Regions from separate parts of the Homo sapiens genome. Here region 2 is linked to region 1. The links are contacts of gene promoters, found by promoter capture Hi-C in human tissues and cell types (Jung and others, 2019). All regions are on one chromosome and are shown on one strand. The core of a region is centred on a gene start or on the middle of the fragment in contact, and the rest is flanking DNA. Distances in the headings are between cores, read along the strand shown.

Region 1 (2,729 bases), core at 162-2,661:
CCTCAGTAAAATAAAAATACCTGACCCCAGAAAGAATGAGAAAATATATGTGCAAGCATAAATATATTTTTGGAACATCAAATATACAACTCTCCACTCTGAGGAAGCAAACTGCTTTGGGCCAGTTTTCCATTTTGTGTCTGCTCTATGAGTCTCACAGTCTGATGTCTTCACGTTTTTTAGCGTTTGGTCCAGTGGGCCCATAGGAATAAACACCTACAAAGAGCAGTGTGTCTCTGGAGAGTCCTTTAAGGCATTTCCAAGGATTTGCTTTTTGGTTTTTTTCTTTCTTTCGTTCTTTTTAAATATCTTTGCTTTTAAGGACCTCATGGGGGGCCTGGGAGAGAAAACAGACTGTCTGGGAAATTTTAAGCTCTTGATAATAAAAATGGTAATAAAATCTCCTCCAGCTCCTGAGGCTTCGCAGAGGGGATGTTTATGGTGGATGGGGTTCCCCTTCTCCTGCGCAGCTGGTTTCGAGGTTGTGCGGTTTCCAGTCCTGCGGAGCAGCTCAGGTTACCGCCTCCGTGGCCGCGGGGGAGGGCATCTCCGACGGCCGCAGCAATGGGCAAGAGATCAGGGTCTTCCCATCCCCGCGACTCGCCCCTTTCTGCCTGGTAACCAAGCGGGATGCCTCATCCTACTCCCCAAACGGAGCGGATCACACACAGTAGTATTTCATGGTCTTTCCTGCTGCGGTTTTCCCGGGGGAAGGTACTTCCAGAGGGTGGCCAAGTCTTCCCTAGCGGCCGGCCTTCGGGAGGGGGACAGAACTTAGGAGTCAGCCCTCTGCCTTCGTACAAAGGCTCGCTTCTCCTCAGGGCGTCTCTGGGTGGAGCGAAGCGGCCGAGGGGACCACGACAATGTCCCTTTGCTTTTCGGACCGATGGCCAGGCCTCCAGAGCCAGGAGCGCCCGGGACCCCAGGGCAGGGAGCAAAGCTCATACCGCAACCCCGCCACCCGCCCGCGCCCTGCCAGCCTGTTGGGGCCACAGCGCGCAGGCCAGCAGCCGCACTCGCCGCTGCGGGGTTCCCTTTGCGCTGAGCTCATCTCCTGCAACGCCGCTGCCCCAAACCTTGCGGGCCATTTGGTCCCGGGGGTGGGGCTCCTTGGGGGCCGCGGGGCAGCCCGGATGAGAGGATGACCCGGGAGCTCCCTGGGGGCGGAGTGGAAGGGGCAGCTCCAGGCAGCCCTGGCCAGGAGCTTTTACCCCGCCAGCCCCGCTGCTCCAGCGGCCGCTGCCTTAGAAAAGTTAACGAGAACCAGATGTGGTGGCCACTGCCGAACTTTCTCAGAGCCGGTGATTGGTCCCCAGCCGAGGGCCTCAGCCAATTAGCTTGCTGGGTGGGCCTGGAGTCCCGCCCCGCCCAGGCGCCCGCGGAGATCCAGGTTCGAGGCTGGCGCGGCGCGGAGAGTGGGCTGGAGGCCGGGGCGGGACGCGTTGTGCAGCGGGTAAGCGCACGGCCGAGCGAGCATGGAGGGGGACCGGGTGGCCGGGCGGCCGGTGCTGTCGTCGTTACCAGTGCTACTGCTGCTGCCGTTGCTAATGTTGCGGGCCGCGGCGCTGCACCCAGACGAGCTCTTCCCACACGGGGAGTCGTGGGGGGACCAGCTCCTGCAGGAAGGCGACGACGAAAGCTCAGCCGTGGTGAAGCTGGCGAATCCCCTGCACTTCTACGAAGCCCGATTCAGCAACCTCTACGTAAGTTCAGCCCCCTCCTGGCACTTTTCCCGCAGCTTCTTCCCTGGGGTCGGTCTCACGGAAACCCTGCCTCCAGAGGGGAGGAAACAGACCCCACTCCTGGAGCCCCCCAGCACCCTTGCGGTGGTACCCGGCCAGAGAGCGATGCCGCTGCCTGCCCCGCTGCTGTAGGGGAGCAAGAATGACCTGGAGGGGAGAGCAAGAATTGTTCGCAGCCACGTACGCGTCCCAGGCAGAAAAGGTGGCGTTGCTAGGGCGGCCAGCGGGCTTTGCAGTTAGGACCGCGAGAAGGCTGTGCCCGTCTGCGGAGCTGGGGTGTTCCCTCTTCAGACCTGGAGGCTTCCTCTCCGAGGACATGGGGCTCCGGGGTTGTGAGGGGAGTGAGAAGATAGGTGAACGAGTTTTAGGGCCCCTGGACCTACTGCAGCGCGGAGCTGGGACAGTCGCAAAAGTTGCGCTTGTTTCCCTGAATCCAGACTCCCTGGCCAGTGGGGAAGGAGAGAGAGGCTTTTTGCCTAAGTCAGTTCCCTTCCCTCCCTGCGCGAAAGGGTAGCGTCCTTGGGCTTGAGCGACTGTCACCTTTTTGTCCCTCTCCTCTCCCAGGTGGGCACCAACGGCATCATCTCCACTCAGGACTTCCCCAGGGAAACGCAGTATGTGGACTATGATTTCCCCACCGACTTCCCGGCCATCGCCCCTTTTCTGGCGGACATCGACACGAGCCACGGCAGAGGCCGAGTCCTGTACCGAGAGGACACCTCCCCCGCAGTGCTGGGCCTGGCCGCCCGCTATGTGCGCGCTGGCTTCCCGCGCTCTGCGCGCTTTACCCCCACCCACGCCTTCCTGGCCACCTGGGAGCAGGTAGGCGCTTACGAGGAGGTCAAGCGCGGGGCGCTGCCCTCGGGAGAGGTAAGTGACCAGGGATATTTGACTGCTGAGGAAATTGAAGGATGGGCTTAAATTCTGGGGCAGCGACCCAGGGACTGGCTCGGAGTTGTTTCTGAGCCTACTCTTGCGCTGAACCTG
Region 2 (2,729 bases), core at 166-2,665, 210 kb before region 1:
TTTGTTATCTCCACTTTTAGTGGTGTCCAATGTAGAGTGACCTGGGATTTTTACAACTGTCAAAAGTTTTGGTTGAGAATAGTTTCTAACAGCTCTGAGAGTTGGTTGTCCATTTTTTATGGGTTGCCCTGAGGAGGTTAAATATCCTCTCTCCTTTCACATTCCGAAGTCCTGAGCAACTCCAAATGCTTAGCAGGTGTCAGGGTATGTTTGCAGCCTTGTCTTTTGCTAATCGACAAGCTTGAGTCAGGGCAATCAATTTGGCCCCTTCAGCTGATTTGGCTTGAGGAAGAGGACCAGCTTCAACTACCTCTAGTAAAGAGACCACAGCATATCCTGCTCTAAAATTTCCATCCCCATCCTCTTAAATAAGACCCATCTGTATACCATTCTATCTCAGCATTATCCAGTGGCATCTCTTGTAAGTCTGTCCCAGAAGTGAGAAGTTGGTCAGTCATCAGAACATAGTCATGAGGGGTTTCGTCAGAAGGACCAGGCGAGAGAGTGTAAGTTAATTATTTGGAGCATATTATCTCAGTCAAAATGTATAAAATAATCTAAAATTGATTCATTTCGGTTCTGGTGGCATTGCTGGATTTTATCCCAATCCACAACCCTTTGGAATATTGAAGAAATGGTATTTAACAGAGCAGTTGCTCATTCCCACACATCTTTGTGTCTGTGTTCTCGACTTCTGGGGGCTGGTTATTGTAGCTCTATTGGGCCTTCAAGGGTTAAGTCTGCTACAGGGTCTGACCACTGTACTTTGTCCAGCTATTCCTTAGCTTTAGCTTCCGAGACCAACATGTGTGCCAGCTGTTAGAGGTCTGAATGGCCTGGGTCATAGGTTCTGATAATGAATTCAAATTCTTGGGCAAACTCAATTGGATCTTATGGGGGCCCAGAAATTCTTTATGCCCTGCAACTCAGCCTTTGACCAGCGTTGGTAGACAATCACCGGGGTTCCCCTATGTGTTACCGGTTGTTCCCAAAACAGGGTGATCATGAGAGATGGCCCTGCAGGGTCCCCCTTTTCCACATCTTCCAGATGAGAGGCTGCCACTGGCACTGTCAGGGAATTGTCAGGAGGTAGGGTCTTGGAAGTTAGACTCCCTACTGCCTTCTGTTGAGTGAGTGGTGTACAAGGAGAGGAAGATGTTAAATTAGAACATGCAGGAGAAGGAGGGAACAGATCTGGTCCGGGAAGTTCAGAGAGGTCAGGGGTAAAGTGGGGGTGTAAGTGGAGGTGGGGAGGTGCCACAGGGAAGTAAGGGATTCTGGGGATTTCTTTAAGAGAGATAGAACTTTAGAGAGTCCTTGGTTAGCATTTCTAAGTTGTTTGTTGGCTTATTGTAAGGACATGAGGTGATCTTCCCCCCATTTGCTACTCTCTAGGTACCATTGAAAGTAGCTCTCCCATTCTGGTTGTTTAGTTTTGTGCCTGCGTTTTGCATCCTAGTTCACAGGTACACTAATTTGGGCATCTCAGAAGATCCCCATCTAGGCCTCTGTAGGTTAGAATCTGCCTTGATTATAGTGGTCCACTTGATTAAATATTTGCATGACAATTCACCATAAGTGTTTTTGCATATACCTGGCCAGAGTTTCTAAGGGTGGAACTTTGTGTTCCACAGCTGTGGGGGTTTCAGCCAACTTAAAGGGCTCCTTCCACATAATTTAGAGTTTTCCTTCAGATTTGACCAAGTCGGAGGGTTTGTTGGATCCAAAGTGTGCTGCTTGGGGACCTAGCTTTTCAGGGCCGTTACTCGCTGAACTGGTATCGTGGCTACCTGGCACAGTGTGTCAGGGGCTCAAGGCATGGGAGATCAGCTCCTTATTTGCACCTGCTAGCTGAGATTACACCCTAAGTACGTTCTTCTGAGGGGAAATCCTACTCAGAGCCGTTGCACATCTTAGGGAGTGTTTCTTCCAGACACCCTCATGTAATTCTCAGTTGCCTAAGAAAGGCTGAGAAGGGCGAGCTCTTATTTCTTTGGAGAGGAAAATTCCATACTATAAGCTAGAGGGTTTAGAGTTGGCCAAATCCAATAAGAGAAGGACTGAAGCATACAAAAAAACACCTAACAAGACAGAAACAAGTAAATAAGACATCTAAGCAAAACGAACAGCAATCACACAAATTATACAATTTGAGTGCTCTAAATGTAAGGAGAAATTAAGACCAGCTGGTTGTTAACAGTACCTTTAGTTATTAAAGAGAATTTGCAAGACAGATTCCCAACTCACCTCCTTACCTAGTGATGAGACTCAAGCTGAAGACTGTTCTCCACTGATGAAGAAGCAGACAAGCTTGCCTTCCCTGATGGAAGCAAGCAAAAACTCCCAGAAAAAAAAAAAGAGGTGTTTTTTTTTTTTTTTTAAACATCAAATTAAACCTCAGAGCCCCAACTTCCTGCAGGGAGGAGGTCCCAGACCTCAACAAATTGTCTTATTGGTTTGGGCTATAAAGAGCCCAATCTGGTACCAATAGGAGAGCTGCTGCAGGCCAGGGCCACCTTCACTCAGGATCCCTCCGTGGTCAATCAAGGAAAATGACCCAGGAAAATCTCAATCATTTTTTGAGGTTTATTTGCCAAAGTTAAGGATACACACCTGGGAGATAGGTCTATTCCTTTCCCCATAGATGATTTTGAGGGTTTCAATATCTAAAGGGGAAAGGGAAGGATATTGAGAAATACATAATTTTCATGTGAGAAGAGGGTAGGGGA

Evidence for each region. Contacts are between HindIII fragments. The study calls those that stand out against the background at their distance.
Region 2: a contact is called between a fragment that was not itself captured here and the fragment with the promoter of NID2 in region 1, in 1 of the 25 tissues and cell types used here (mesenchymal stem cells).

The regions. Positions count from the first base shown.
Region 1 is chr14:52,067,741-52,070,469 of GRCh38, reverse strand. NID2 (nidogen 2) reads left to right here and starts at 1,411. Exons shown (of 22, transcript NM_007361.4): 1 at 1,411-1,703; 2 at 2,307-2,612. The coding sequence starts at 1,476. It overlaps LOC105378180 (a long non-coding RNA gene), which reads right to left and starts at 1,234. Exons shown (of 2, transcript XR_943864.4): 1 at 1-1,234. The HindIII fragment of the contact is 10,101 bases long and covers 1-2,729 here.
Region 2 is chr14:52,280,758-52,283,486 of GRCh38, reverse strand. It overlaps a transcript of PTGDR not described here. Among named protein-coding and RNA genes, the nearest start is that of PTGDR, 14 kb to the right of the region's middle. The HindIII fragment of the contact is 3,101 bases long and covers 1-2,729 here.